Linked DNA regions of Homo sapiens: regions 2 and 3 are each linked to region 1. The links are contacts of gene promoters, found by promoter capture Hi-C in blood cells and fetal thymus (Javierre and others, 2016). All regions are on one chromosome and are shown on one strand. Each heading gives the region's core, a stretch centred on a gene start or on the middle of the fragment in contact. The rest is flanking DNA. Distances are from core to core; before and after follow the strand shown. Region 1 holds the start of TFAP2A-AS1 (TFAP2A antisense RNA 1). Region 2 has its middle 850 kb from the start of HULC. Region 3 has its middle 860 kb from the start of TFAP2A-AS2.

Region 1 (5,157 bases), core at 1,945-4,444:
TTGCATTGTAAATAGTAAATGTGCTAATGCCATGCTTATTTAGAAATCATTTTAAACTGCATTTATTGATAACTAAATTAGAACTCAAATAATGTATTACCCAATAGTCTCGAAACATTTAATTTAATATGGAGTGTAGCAGGTTCTGATAGGCGTTGGGAACCTAGCTAATGATTTATGAGGTCACCACTTAGCACCCCTAGTAAGAAGAAGGCTGCATTTTAATGTCCCTCTGCTTGGATTTGCTACTTAGTTTTTCTTTAATCAGGATAGGGTGTACACATAACTTTTAGGTTTCACTTGTGCTTATAAAATCCGGTTAAAATGATCTTAGTGTGTCTTTTACACTTCCTTTTACATTTTGAGGACATTTAATGAGCTCTTTTGGTTGCATTTAACATCATTCCCAGGACAGGGAGAAATCTCCACGCCAGACTCAGCGATGGAAGTAGATCTTTTAGCAATTGAGACAGTTTACTGTCGTCGAGAGGAAGATATTGTTAATGGTGACATTCGTCTGATTTATCTGTGTTGGTGGAAATGGTAATGCAGGCATTGTTTGAGGGAGCTCCAGAAACCATTGTTCTGGGGTAGAACTCGCAACTACTTTGTGTGGTTCCTCAAAACGTCCCTCACTCTCCGCCTCCGAATAAAATGTTTTTATAAGGAAATACTAGGGAGAACCCGGGCCCACCGACTGTATGTTCCAGGTATCCTTTCTGGGGTAGGTAAGTAGGGGGCTGTGTTCCCTCCCGCGCTGGTTGCGCGGCCTCTTACCGGGACCTCCTCGATGGCGTGAGGTAAGGAGTGGATCGAGAGGTCTCCGAGTCCTGAGCTGAGCGCGTGTGGGCCGTGCAGGAGGTCCTCGTGCCGCCTGTAGTCCCTGCGAGGATCCAGGCCCGACAGCTGGTGAGGCAGCCCCCGGTGCGTGTGCAGGAGCCCAGACTCCTGGCTCTGCCTCTGGCCGGGCCAGCCTGGGTGCTGCGGCTGCGGCTGGGCGTGCAGGGGGTTCAGGCTGTAGGGGTCGTTGACGTGGGAGTAAGGATCTTGCGACTGGGGGTAGATAGGCTGGTAGGGTGGGGGGAAGTATGGGGGCTGGAAGTCGGCATTGGGGGTGTGGGACAGCGGCGGGGCGCTCGTGTAGGGAGATTGACCTACAGTGCCCAGCTGGGGCAACCGTGCCGTCCCGTTGCTGGTGCCGTCGTGACGGTCCTAGAAGAGAGCGAGAGGAAAGGTAAAGAACAAGGAATCAGGCGTCGAGCTACAACTATCCACACAAAATCCACTTGACAAGTCTGCGTGGGAAATCGCCCGTTCCCGTTGGCTGGCCGCCGGGAAAAAATCAGCTCTAAGTTCTTTTCAGGAAATACCCTCAAGTGAAACAGACCGAACAACGCAGAGAAACTGTATATGGAGGGGGCACAAGAGACTATTTAGGGGTTTCTTTCAAAGAGAGGAAAAGATAGAAAAGGGTCTCCTGGAACACAGCCCATTAAACTGCAGCGTGAAATCTCTCTTAAGCAAAATTAAAATTCCTCCTAAATACTAAACAGCAGAAGCGGCCTTTTCTTTTCCCCCGATTTGAACCTGTCTGCCACTGCGTTATTGTTTATTCTCTTCCATTTATTTGGAGAGAAAAAAATCATAAACGTTCAAAGACTGTTACCGTTTCATGACTACTTAAATAGAAACATATTTCGCAGAGGGGCTGTAACAAAAACACACGTTTAAATTACCAGCTTAAAGAAGGTTTTAACTGCAGGATCGGGGTCTGTCTTTTTCGCTTCCTCTGTTAGGAGCCTTTTTCTCGACAGAGTCGATTTATGGTTTGGATAGGGAAAGGGGGACGTCAAGTCAAGGTTTAAAATAGAAAGATTCAGCCTTATTGGGTTTAAAAGAGAGAGGTGCACCCCGGGGCTGTGGCCCCCCCCCCCCGCCCCTTCCACCCCAGCCCCAAAGGGCAGAAGAAACGCCTGACTTTAGGTTTCTCTATTGCAATTCCCTTGCAAAACAAGCGAAGAGAGTTGATTCCAGAGACCGCGAACCCTCGGCGGTTCGGCCGCAGGTCCCGAGGGTAGGGGGCACACCGCGCTGCACTTTTCCTGCAGACAGTTTAAGCATCAAATGTTGAGAACATCTCGGGGACAAGTGAAGACTCAAGGAAATCAAGATGAACGTGGGGAGAAACACGCCTTGGGAAGCCGCGGCGAGGTAGGTCTGCGTGCTCGGAGAGGTCGAGCGGGGGCTGGGGTAGGGGGTAATGCACTCGATTTAGGGATGGAAAAGAGCGAGAGAAAGGCGGAAGGTGGGGTGGGGGATGCAAATGGAGAGGGTGTCCTGAAGGAAAGCTGGGCGTGAAACCCGAGGTTTCGGGCAGCTCCACGGCACCAGGTTTCCAGAATCCAATTCCTAAAGAAACAGCAACGGGGGTGGGGATGGGACTCACCATGGCTGAAAAACTGTGAACTAACATCTGCGAAGAGTCTGGGGTAACGAGTCAGGGTGGAAAAAAACAAGCAAGCCTGGAGCGCCCGGCTGCCCCGCCGCCCGAGCGCGCCCCACACAAAAGGCGCCGAGAGCCCCGCGCCACCCAGGACTCCAGTCACGGCGCCGACGCTCCCCGGAGCGCGGGAGCCCGGCTCGGATCCATCCGAACTTGAACCACCGATTCGCGCGGCGCCTTCAGCTGGTCGAACCCACGGTCTCTATCCTGCCGCGACTGGTTATGATTCAAAGTTCTTTAAAAATGAAAAACCCCAAAAAAGGAAAAAGGAAAAAGTATGTGTGAGTGTGTGGGTGCGTGCGTGTTCCTTAATCCGTGTCTCCCCCTCTTTTCTTAGCGGCGGCTTCGCTTGAGCTTCTAATAACCGCGCTGGGCAGCGTTCCTGGAGCCTCCTAATAGCAGATATTCATGACTATTAATATTACACGAATACTTAATAAGGGAAGAATGCCTGGAAATCGAGCGTGAAGCGGAGAGGCAACTCGCGCCGGAGCCGGCTCTCAATGCAGTCCATTGACGGGAGTCTCAGTGTAGCAAATCGGAGTGGGGAGAGGGAGCGCGAGAGACAAAAAGCGAGCGAGAGAGGGAGCGGGCGAGCGCGCGGGGGGCCGCGGCGCGGCGTCTGGCGAATCACAGGGAAGGGGCAACATTTTAAAAGGTTGCAGGGCATGCAAAAGTGAAAGAGAAAGAGGCAGAGAGGGAGACCGAAGGAGAGAGCGCAGAGAGGGAGAATGTGTCTGCGTGCGTGTGTGAGAAAGAAAGTGTGGGCGAGGGAGAGGAGCCCCGGGTGGGGAGAGGGGAGGGAGGGAAGGAGGGAGAGCCCGAGAGGAGGAAGGGAGGGAAAGAGGGAGGGAGGAAGGGAGGGAGGGAGGGGGAGGGGGCCCAGCCGGAGCGCACGGAGGGGGAGGCCGCGGGGGAGGGGGAAGGGGAGAGGAAGCGAGCGAGGACAATCAGACCTAAAAGGCTGGGGCAGACCTCGGGATGCAGCGGGGGTCGTGCGTAGCGGGTAGGAGCTGCTTGGGACCGCGTCCGGGCGCTCGTGGGGCTCTCGGCGCGGCAGGCGCTTCCCGGCCCTGTCTGGCCGCGGGCTCCGCCGCTTCGCAGCCGAGTCTGGGACTCGGGACTCGGCTGCCCGCTGCTGCGCGGCTCCTCCATGACCCGGCGCCCTGCCCGGGACCGGCCCGCTCGCTGCACTGGTCCTCTCCTCGGCCTCCTCTTGAGCTTTCCTCGGACAGGGGCACCGTGCGCTCCCCGGCCACCGTCGCTCTGCCCTCGGCTCTCTGGGGCCGGGGATTCCGGATCGGGAGCCGGGATGCGGGCCGGGGCGCGCACAGACGCTAGGCGGCCCAGCCCGGGCGCCGCTGGCACCGGCTCGCGGCTCCCGGCAAAAACCCGTCCGACTGGCTGGGCCACTCCCGCCTGACGCCCCCCCAGATGACACGACTAGCTCTCCCGGCGTGCTGCCTTTGCCAGTCTACCCGCCAGGTTGTCAGAACAAGCGGCACCTCGCCTCCTGCGTGTCCCTACAGAGCCCCGGCACAATCAGACTGCCCCAAGCCAGCTCCGAAACCCGAAATCCCCGCTCCGGCGCTTGCCCACCACGGCCAAAGTTGTGGAAACAGCTTTGACTTTATTCTCCTCTCTCTCTCATCTTTTTTTGCCTCGCTTACACACGCATTCACACTTGCCCCCACAGGATCCCTCTAGGGGTGCAAGTTCATCCCCCACCTAGCCACCCACCCCATCCAGTCGGCACCTAGAGCCGCACGGAGGTTCGGACCCCGCCCGCCGAGGGCGCCCACACCTGGAGCTGGGTTTCGGCCTCTGCGAAAGTGAAATGCCCAAGCCTCCGGCCAAAGCCCAGACCAGTACAGTATGAATTGTCCTATGAGACTGAGGGGTTCGGCTTCATTCCTACCTGCCCGCAAAGCTCGCCCCCAGCCTCGAAAACAAAGCGACTGGTCTGACGTGGGGTCCCTGCGCCCCTCCTCTAGCGCGACAGGACCCCCCCAGGGAAGAGCCAGTACCCGTGGGATGTCACCCCGTCCCCATCTACCGGGGTGGGGGGCCTGAAAGGAGAACGATTTAAAATAATCTTCAGAAAGAAAAGGGAGGAGGGAGCGGGTGACACATCGTTCACATAAACCCAATTTCTGGTTTCGAGTGAAGTCAAGATCTCCGCCCCTGCGCCTGCACACACACCTCCTGCCTAACATTCTCAGCTGCAAATGCCAAAAAAGAAAAAAAAAAAAAACAGCAAAAGTTGGGACTGCCACCTATTTATTTAGGTAATCTCCAGCCCTACACACCCCAACCCCTCTCTCGGACTCATTGCTCATTACAGTGTTGGTTGTAACCGTTCCCAGCGCCTCCTGCGGGTGGACAGGTCGCGCTAGGGTCTCCCTTGCTGCCTCAAGAAGGCGAGCTCAGGGGACTCTGCGTTTTAAAATGGGTTCCAAAGCGGCGCGCTCTGTCGGCCCAGCGGGCTTGCGGCACCAGAGGTGGTCTGCAGCCGCGCAAGGATTCCCACGGTCGTTCTGGGCTGGTGCAGAAGCTGGTGCTCCCGCACCCAGCGGCCAGCAGGCTCGGCGCAGCACATCTCCCCACCCCACCCCCACACACCCCCGTGGGGTGCGTCGATCCTGTAGCTCAGA
Region 2 (5,157 bases), core at 890-3,389, 910 kb before region 1:
AACATGTGTCACAAAAGCACCGTGGGAGCCTATCATTATTACTACTAACAAGAATAAATGGAACCTTTGCATACATAAACAAATCGTAAGAGGTATATATTTTTCCTTAGCTTTTAAAATCAATGGTATCAGGGCATTTTCTTGGGATTAATCTACTGGGGTTTTTTGCTACTTTGAAATGAACAAAGTTGAGTCAGTCATTAATCCCCAAGAAATTCTGTGCCTCTCTGTCACCGGACTGACATGTGGATTGTTGCTCCCCTTTGGACTCAAACGAGGTGCTCCAAAAACTCTAGCCTGATCACAGAATTAAAAAACAAAACAAAATAAAAAAAAACAGCAAAGGTACTCCCCAGCTTCTGGGGTTATTTCTTGGAGTTCAGAACGTAAATAAAATTTACTAAGTATGATTTTGTATTAAGAACCTTTCAGGGCTTCTAGTAGCTGCAATTCTAACATTTTGTGAAGAGTAGATTTGCAGCTGCCAACCTGCCCAGGCACCTTTTGCTTCAGTAGGCAGTAGAATAATTCCCAGAGGATCAAAAGCAAACACATTATGTGGCTTTTTGCCGAATGTGTATTCACTGCCAGGCATCAACCCTCACCTGGGGGAAAAAAGAAATCTCTATTATGGAAGAATATATCACCAGTAGCAACTGTTCTCACAGAGGTGGACATACACGGGTGTGAGTATTGACTCATCAGAATACAGGTGTGGTGGGAGAACAATTATAATTCAGGTAATAGCTAAACATGAATTTTAATGAGGATATTCAATAGTCATTAAATATGGCACTAGACATGGGGATTAAAGGTTGGTGTTTCTATGTGAACATTGCATGAGTTATTTTAGTTCTAATTATTAGAAGAATAACTAGAATTAATAGATATGTCTGTACTAGTAAAATTATTTAGTTTTTTTGATAATTCTTTGAATCCATTTGTCAGAGGTGTCTGAACCAAAGCAACTCCATCTTGAATAGGGGCTAGGTAAAATGAGCCTGAGACCTACTGGGCTTCAATCTCAGATGGTTAAGGTATTCTAAGTCACAGGATGAGATAGGAGGTCGGCACAAGATACAGGTTATAAAGACCTTGCTGATAAAACAGGTTTGCAGTAAAGGAGCCAGCCGAATCCCACCAAAACCAAGATGGCGATGAGAGTGACCTCTGGTCGTCTTCACTGCTACACTCCCACCAGCCCCATGACAGTTTACAAATGCCATAGCTGCATCAGGAAGTTACCCTATATGGTCTAAAAAGGGGAGGCATGAATAATTCACCCCTTGTTTAACATTTAATCAAGAAATAACCATAAAAGTGGGCAACTAGCAGCAGCACTCGGGGCTGCCCTGCCTATGGAGTAACCATTCTTTCTTCCTTTACTTTCTTAGTACTTGCTTTCACTTTACTGTATGGATTCACCTCGAATTCTTTCTTGTGAAAGATCCAAGAACCCTCTCTTGGGGTCTGGATTGGGACACCTTTCCAGTAACACATTTATTAAAGATTAGCGAATTTGCAGATTCACTAAAAATAGAAAGTACTATTTTTCTGTTACATTGATGCAATAACTAATTTGGTTGTTAAAAGTTTCTAACTATAAAACAGTTTACAAGAAGGAACTCACTGTGGAATCTGTGATTCTCCTCCCCAAACCCCACGAACCTTTCTCTCATGAGAGTTTTTTCTTTTGAACTAAAGTGCCCAGACACAAGTCCCCGCAAGAGGTCAAACGCTAATAATGAGAATAGATGCAAAAGCTGAGGTCATAGACCGATTATTTTTTACATACCATTACTAAAAATGCCAGTTTTGAAAGGGTTTCACCTGTTGTTTTCTTTATTGTTCAGGGTACACCTACCAAAGGCAGGAAAATCTAAAAACTCTTGTGTTTCCTCAAAGACAATGTGGCAAAAAAGAAAGGAGATTTTCTTTTTTTCTTGTTTCTTTTCTTTTCTTTTTTTTCTTTTTGAGACGGAGCTTTGCTCTTGTTACCCAGGCTGGAGTGCAATGGTGTGATTTTGGCTCAGCGCAATCTCCTCCTTCCAGGTTTAAGCAATTCTCCTGACTCAGCCTCCTGAGTAGCTGGGATTAAAAGCATGTGCCATTACACCTGGCTAATTTTTTTTTTTTTTTTTTTTTTGTATTTTTAGTAGAGACAGGGTTTCTCCATGTTGGTCAGGCTGGTCTCAAACTCCCGACCTCAGGTGATCTGCCTGCCTTGGCCTCCCAAAGTGCTGGGATTACAGGCGTGAGCCACTGCGCCCGCCCAGCCAGAAAGTAGATTTTCTGTGAAAGTAATTCACCTACCCCACAATCTATTTCCTACCTGTAAGATCTCTCTTGATTTTAGTTATGTGCTCTAAAAACTTACTGATAGCACTAGCTTGGACTTTTTTGGCATTTTGTAGTTTTCAAACACTTTCTTATGTAATCTCAAATATCCTCATCCCCATTTTTCTGATGAGGAAACTATAATGAGGGAAAACTAGAAAACTCCCTAACATCTAAAAAAGTGAAAGGTGATTAATTAGATGTACAGCATACGTCAGGTGAAAATTTTTCCCGTAATTTTCTCATTAGACCAGGCTCCTTCTCTCACCTTTGGGAAGATAGTAGTGCAGGACCCAGGCTTTTACAAACTTTCCTCCTACTCCAAATCTTGTGATGGAGATGGAAAAGGGGAACAGATTCATTAAAGGTTGAGGAAAAGAAAAATTGTTCAATGTTTTACACATTTTCAAAAACAATTAGAAGCAGACAATTGGGAGGGTTATGTGAGACAAAAAGAATAGATTTAAATTGACCTACAACTTGAAAAGAACTTAACAATTGCTCTAAGACCATAGTTATGACTAAAAGAACTTGAATATATACTTCCCCTGTTTTTTTTTTTCCTTATTTTCCCCTTGTATTAATCAATGACATCAACAACCACCTGATTCTCAGGATAGAGATATTCATATTTTCTTCAATGATTTCCTCTTCTACTGCTCCTGTTTATTGTACTCAGTCAGTTACCATGTGTCTTAATCCATTCAGACTGCTATAAAAAATACCATAGACTGAGTGGCTTATAAACCACAGAAATTCATTGCTCACAGTTCTAGAGGCTGGGAAGTCCAAGATCAAGGAACTGGCAGATTCCGTGTCTGGTGAGGGTCTGTTTCCTAGATCATAGGTGCTACCTTCTTGCTGTGCCCTCACACTGTGGAAGAAGGAAGGCAGATCTCCAGGGTCTCTTTATTAAGGGCACTAATCCCATTCAAGAGGGCTCCACCCCCATGACCTAATCACCTCTTAATGACCGCACCTCCTAATAGACTTGCACTGGGGATTAGCAACACAGGAATTTTGGGATAACAAAAATATTCAGGCTGTAGCACGAGGCTTTGCTATTTCTTGTCACTTATCCCTCTGACTTTGAAGACTCATTAGTAATATCCAGGATTAATCCTTCAGTATTTCCCATCTGAACAATTGAGGTAAGCCTCCTGTGCATTCTATGCTTCAAGCCTGCCACCAGTCACTTTCCTAAAGTCCAGATCAAACCATGACGTGATGTGGGAACTATCATGGCATGGTTTGACCTAGGGCAGTGGTTTCCAAATGACAGTGCATCAGAAGCTACAGGAGATCTCGTTAACACAGATTTCTTGGCCCAACCCCCAGAGTTTCTGATTTAATTGGCCTGAGTGGGAGCCTAAGAACTTGCATTTCTAACAAGTTCTCAAGTGATGCTAATGGTACTGGTCCCAAGACCACACCAGGAGAACTATTTACCTTGAAAACTACATCCTAATCCCTAACCCCAATTGACATTTTAAGCCTCAGCCCTCACTAAGTCAATTCATAATTAATATAATGGAGCCTAGTAGGGTACTTTCCATTTGTGTGATACGTCATACAGTTTAACACAGTAATATCGCTTATTTAGATAGCCCCAGGGTCAGATGTCTGGGATTCTAGAGCTGCCTCTAGCCTCTAACAGCAGCATGACCTTGAGTGGTTTATTCATTAGTTTTCATCTGAGCTTTCTCAACTGCACAAAAGAGATAATAGTACAGACCGAGCTAAAATGAGAATCAGTACTCAGTGCCTTGTAAGCATTCAATTAGCGTTGGCTGCTGTTATTATTTATATTTGAGATGCCTTTTAGATGCCAAGCCTTGAGCCATTTTCCTTCAGATGTTTTAGTTCTAATTCTTACCATACTTCTGTAATGTAGGTGTTGCTTCCCCCATTTTAATAGGGAAAGCTCCCAGAAGTTAAAATTATATCTCATTTATCTGATTCTAAAGATGTGTCTTTTTCATGAATCTTTTTGACCATTTTCTATCTTTGATCTTGGCATTCCCCATTTTTCATTCCTCATAATTCTGTACATCACAAGATCAATCAAGTAGAGTTCTTCAATTTGGGCATCCCTGAATAGTGCTTTGCTGCACTTCTGCTATAGCATGCCTTCATTCTGTCTCGGTGCCCTGTCTAGCCAAACCAGTATATAAGAAACTTTCTGGCAGCTTCGTTTCCTGGGAAACCTTCACCTCTTACAGTGATGAAATGAGGACTCTGCTTAGCATCAGTTCTCAAATGCCTGATGAATTTGAAAACCAAATTATAACAAAAATATAAATTAAAATTAAGCTTTATATGGACTCTCCGTTCACAGTTTTGATTCTAATAACCTGAGATGAAATTAACAGTGAAATTTTTTAAATGGCTAAATTCTGCTAAGTTATTTAACTTGGACACATCTAGTAGAATTCAGCCAATTCAAAATCAGCCATCGTGTCATTGGGGGTTTATATATCCCTTCCTCAATCTCTGCGTATGGCTAGTTAAAGTGAAAGCAAAGTGAAGTTAATCCCCAAAACAGCAATCTCTATTTCTATTCTAGATATCAAACATGAATACATATGTAAAAGTAAAAATTATTGCCCATAATTTTTTGCATGTATCTGTTGAAAGTGTTTGTTGGACAGTTGTAAGCATTTCTCTTGTTTTTAAGTAGCAATAGATACATAATTTCTTCATATTTACTGTTTTAGGATACATGCTTTAAACACAAAATTTTTGATTTTTAAAATTTTCAAGTTATTATATCTAAAGAACTAGTTCAGAATTCACATCTCTCAAAACATATATATATAA
Region 3 (5,157 bases), core at 1,063-3,562, 870 kb before region 1:
TATGGCTAATAGATTTCCTGTTAATGATTAAGTCGGAGGAATCCATGGAGTGCATGGCCTCAGTGGCTTCTCAAATCCCAGAATGAGGCATTTGCAGGTGACTTGAAGGTCTGTTAATGATCACTGAAGGTAAAAGCTGCTTGTTGACAGGTCTCTACTTTTTCTTGTGAAATTACTTAGCTCCTCTGGGATAACTGTATAGAACTTTGGATAAAAATATTAAAATTCTATTTAGTTGTACAATGTTTTAATGCAAATTTTTAACCATAAAACCAACCGCTCCATTCAGTTAAATTAATAGAATTACAAAAAAGATGTAATGATAGCAATTAAGTCTTGAAAATGCAAATTTTATAGTCAAGGACAATTACCTCATTTATAGTATATTGGAATGGTGCCAGATGAAGGTAATTTAGATCCTCCCAGCTCACAGTTACATCATGATGGATATCTTCATTTCATTAGTTCAACAAAGATGGGTGAGAAGTTAGACAATACATAAAAAAACTAAAGCGTATTTGACCTTTAGTATAACTAGAACCAGAATTCATTCACTAATTTATCAAGTATTTAATGAGTACCAATTATCTAAAATATTATTTATATATTTTGTCTGCCTTAGAGAAAAAAAAGTCTTTATTTTCACATCTAGAAAGCACTGGTTTGTAGAGAAATCAGATTTCTTCAAAACCAGGCCAGGTTTTTGGTGCTTGGTGAGTATCTTTATGTGCAATGCAGATGACCTAATTTTGTGTTGATTGGAGTGATACCAAGTCTCCCTGCAAAAGAACAATGGGTTTTTCACTAATTATCTTCTCTTTTATTTGAGCCTGCTTCAAGTAATTGTTGGTGTCTTAAAATCATGCAGCTGTGAAAGTTGGGCTACCTAAATGATTACTTTTGTCATTTTAAGATTTTACTATGTACTATCTTATGTTCCATATTTTCACATTATCATCTTGGCTGCAGTTCATTTGTACAACATCCAGAAGTTTATCATTTCCATATTACAGGAAGACAAGTAACTTTACAAAAATTTTTTAAATAGAGAGATTTAATAATAAGAATGTAGGCTTTTCAAACTTCCAATTCTATATTGTCTTAATGCAAATTTTCTGCTTATGTTCATAAAAAAAATCTGCATTGCTCATGATCTCCCCTTTTGCCCTCTAGAGGGCACTAGATCACACTCCTGATGATAAAAGGAGTCAAATTGAAGCCCTATTTGCTGATGTTAAAATTTCCCCTTGAGTCATTATCTTTGGAGAGAAAATTTCTGCTGTCTAAAGGAACCAGTGACTATGAGGAGCAGGTAGTTCACTTCTTGCCACGTTGTTTCTAAACAGAGGGAAAGCAATGCGCTTGGGGGTTTTGAAGACTGGCTGCCCAAGTTCAAACACATGGCTCAGGCACTTCCTGAATATGTAATGTTGGGCAAATTATTTGTTTCTGTGCCTCAGTTTCCTCATCTGTAATATGGGGATAATAATACCTACTCCACAGCATAGCTGTGAAGATTTTAAAAAATGATAATATGTATAAAGAAGTTGGGGAACAGATACAGCCTATAGCAAGCACTATTAGTATTAGAGTTTTTTTCAATATTTTATAGCAAGCACTATTAGTATTAGTTTTTTTAATACCTTTTTTTGGAACATAATCCCCAATAATGATTCTGCGCTACTGCCCCTGGATTTCTTCCTTAGTCCCATGACTCAAATGGGCAAGCCTCTATTAGGACCATCTAAGAGATCTATGCAATTCCCTTACAAGATTCAATATTGGCTTAGCGTACTTTTAAAGAGGCTGATGCCATTGATTCAATAGACGTCAAAACAGAAAGTAAACCTCTTCAAAGTCAGGATGACATAACTTTGTAGTTTTGCTTTCTTGCTCACTTTTGGATAATAAGCCCCAAACCAAAATATCAAGAGTTTATTGTAATGAAAGGCCATAGAAACACATACTAGACAAATGAGTATACAGAATAGATATATGGCCCTTCTTTAGTCTATGGAAAATATTTTATTTTCCTTGAATGCCATATATAGTAAGAGTCATTAGGATTTTTTTCCCCTGGAACTTACATAGCAGCTAGAAGAGCCAATAATGCTTTTGAAATTCAACCTTTGTTTCTAGTGATGATGTCTAAGTCTTTGTGGATTTACTGTCTTGGTTCATTTAGCTAGCAGTAGAACGAGAGTTTTCACAAAATATCCCCCTGGGTCATGGTGGCGGTAGTGGTAATCCTCTATCTTCTTTCTCTCCCTGATATTTATATTTATTTATTACGGTAAGTTTTCTAATGCATAAAAATGTAATGTAAGAAATGATTATAAATCTTTGGCTATATACATGTTCAAAGAGATATTTAAAATTAGTTGTCCCTGATCCTCTCAACGTAGATATTAATTCATCAGTAAGTCAACTGATAGTTTGTGCCATAACCTCTAATAGATCTGGCTTTGCCCTGGAAGCCCATGCAGGCTAAAATCAGCAGCCAACCCTTTGCCTGGATTGTACTTCTAAAAGAGTTAGAGTTTGAAGTGCCGTATAAGTATTTTAAATATATTTGTATTGATGTACACAACCGGTTTGATCATTATTAATGAACTAATCGACTAAATACTGTATTAGATAATCAGTTGGTGGAGCCTAATAATAGTATCAGCTCTAGATGTGAGTATCTCTTGGCGTTCCTGTAGTCTGATTTATGAATGGTATGCTACACATCAATCTTTACACACCCATTCAGAATAAATAAGCAAGATGAAAGGAGATTCACATATTCTTTATAAAGATAAGTCTTATGAGGTAATGGCTCTATGATGGTTAATACACCCTATTCTCATAGCATTATGATAGAACCTAAAACTTAATTGCTCTGTTCAAAAGAGAAATAATGCAATGTTCCTACTTAAAATGGTTTCTTATGCAAAGGCGTAAAATTTCTGGCATTAGAGAAAACAAAAGCGTATCTGGTACTCTAGCTGCTGTGTCTCAGTTGTAAAAATCTCGTCTGTGATCATAATAGGATATTGATTAGTATGGAAGCTATACAAAGCTGAATTGCATTTCTTGGTGGAGTACGAAAGGTCACTGTTTGATTACTCAATAACTTTTCAAATACAAGAAATGCTATTTAAAAGTATGCTTGAATGATTGGTTTGTACTATAAGAGGGAAATGGGGGAAATGGTACTACTTTCGTAAAGGTAGTTAGATGTTAAATTCTTATATCATTTTCTATTCATGTATATTTAACATTCTGTACTATTTTATATACTAGAACATAAACCATTAAATCAAATTATAAGTGCAATTTTACATGTTATCCATGTGATATCTAACTTACAAGACATATAATTCACTTGTTTTTAGGTATTAACTGAGTTTGTCACTATGGCCATCTTATATTTGATGGCATTTATTTTCTGTGATCATAAATATAAGGTACTTCATATTATTATAGAAAATGTAAAAAATACAGAACTATATAAAGAAGATAACAAATTACCAATAATTCTGATATTCTGATTAACTTCTTTCCTCTTTTTATTTATAAAACAATATAAAGTCTTATCATGTATTTATTATATTTGCTACAAGTTATAAATTCAGGATCATTTTATAATAGTTTTAATGATAATTTTCCCCTTTTAACTGGGAATGCACTCTTAGGAATAGTAAATATTCTTGAAAAAATGATTCTTAATAACTGCGTATTATTCTAAATTATGGATAGACCATAAAATATTTAACCTGTTAGTTTGTGCTCATAAATACCTCCGAACTCTCCTGTTTATGTGACCTATAGTTTTGTTAAGAGCCTTGTATGATGGACATCGGCATCATCCTCTTTGATCCCGTTACTTTCTCCTTACATTGCCACTGATTTCCTCTTTTGGCATTACAGGTTTCTTTCTAATCACTGGCACACATGCCCAAGCCCAGGGCTCACTATTTGCTCAAACAAGTATTCACCTTTGATAGATTGAGTAACCTCAATCTGACTTGGCAAAATAAAGAAACCTTATTGAGTCTATTGCAAGGACTGGCTAACAGCATCCCAATACTTGGTTAGAACTCCAACCATATTTACCAAATGTATTAGGATGTTCTTGCATTGCTATAGAGAAATCCCTGAGGCATGGTAATTTATGAAGAGAACGGTTTAATTGGCTTACAGTTATACAGGTTGTACAAGTATAGCACCAACATCTGCTCTGCTTCCAGTGAGGGCCTCAGTAACCTTCCAATCACAGTGGAAGCTGAAGGGAGAGCAGGCATGTCACGTGGCAGGAGAGGGAGCCAGAGAGAGAGGTGGGAGGTGCCACACACATTTCAACAAGCAGATCTCATGAAAACTGACTCATCACAAAGAGCATGGTGCTAGCGCATTCATGAGAAATACGCCCCCATGATCCGATCACCTCTTACTTGGCCCCACCTCCAACAGTGGGGATTACATCTCAACATGTGATTTGGTGGGGACACAGATCCAAACCATAGCATCAAATATATAGATGACTGAATGACAAGAGGCAGGTCGGAGAAGGTAGAAAGCAGTGCATGTAGAGAGAGTGGAGAATTTGAGTAGCAGATCATGAAGACAGAAGAAAAATGGGCGATGTAAAAATAGAAAGAATAGCACAGTAATGGGCAGAGGAAACAGAAATAGGGTGGAATACATGAGAACAGGGTGGAGGATTTGGGTGTCAGAAAAGAAGCAGTGTGGAAATTAATTGATACTCTCTGCAGTACAGCCACATTCTATGCCATGGGCAACACAGCAAAAGTATCATTCATAATTGGGACTCTCTGGCTTGTGTAACCACCCACTGAGACAAAAGAGACTGCTTTCATATCAATTATTTTGCTTAGGGTACTGGTATCATGATATACCTATTTATGTACATTTGATCCGTATGCACCTTTCAGATGTTGATAGACATGTAGCATCTGGAATTGGAAGGTGATGGACCTGCTCTTCTGTGTGCCAATCAGAATCTCCTGGAGCACTGGATTCAGGTCTAAAGTCAGACTTTTTAAGAGGGAAGTAGACACTGGAGGAGATGTACCCTGGAGGATGGTCAGCACAGTGAAGGGACCTAAAATACAATCACCCACAGACAGGTAAAAAGAAAGCTTGGAGAGG

Evidence for each region. The method cuts DNA at HindIII sites, captures the fragments that hold promoters and counts their contacts. A CHiCAGO score of 5 or more calls a contact.
Region 2: a fragment that was not itself captured here is called in contact with the fragment with the promoter of TFAP2A-AS1 in region 1 in 1 of 17 cell types (endothelial precursors); the score reaches 5.8 in endothelial precursors.
Region 3: a fragment that was not itself captured here is called in contact with the fragment with the promoter of TFAP2A-AS1 in region 1 in 3 of 17 cell types (M0 macrophages, M2 macrophages and M1 macrophages); the score reaches 8.5 in M0 macrophages.

Annotation. Positions count from the first base shown.
Region 1 is chr6:10,409,124-10,414,280 of GRCh38, forward strand. It overlaps TFAP2A-AS1 (TFAP2A antisense RNA 1), which reads left to right and starts at 3,195. Exons shown (of 3, transcript NR_033910.1): 1 at 3,195-3,244. TFAP2A (transcription factor AP-2 alpha) reads right to left here. Exons shown (of 7, transcript NM_001372066.1): 2 at 778-1,212. RefSeq lists a silencer at 3,435-3,794. The HindIII fragment of the contact is 20,769 bases long and covers 1-5,157 here.
Region 2 is chr6:9,503,740-9,508,896 of GRCh38, forward strand. No RefSeq gene overlaps it. Among named protein-coding and RNA genes, the nearest start is that of HULC, 850 kb to the left of the region's middle. The HindIII fragment of the contact is 5,017 bases long and covers 1-4,648 here.
Region 3 is chr6:9,539,539-9,544,695 of GRCh38, forward strand. No RefSeq gene overlaps it. Among named protein-coding and RNA genes, the nearest start is that of TFAP2A-AS2, 860 kb to the right of the region's middle. The HindIII fragment of the contact is 5,665 bases long and covers 1-5,145 here.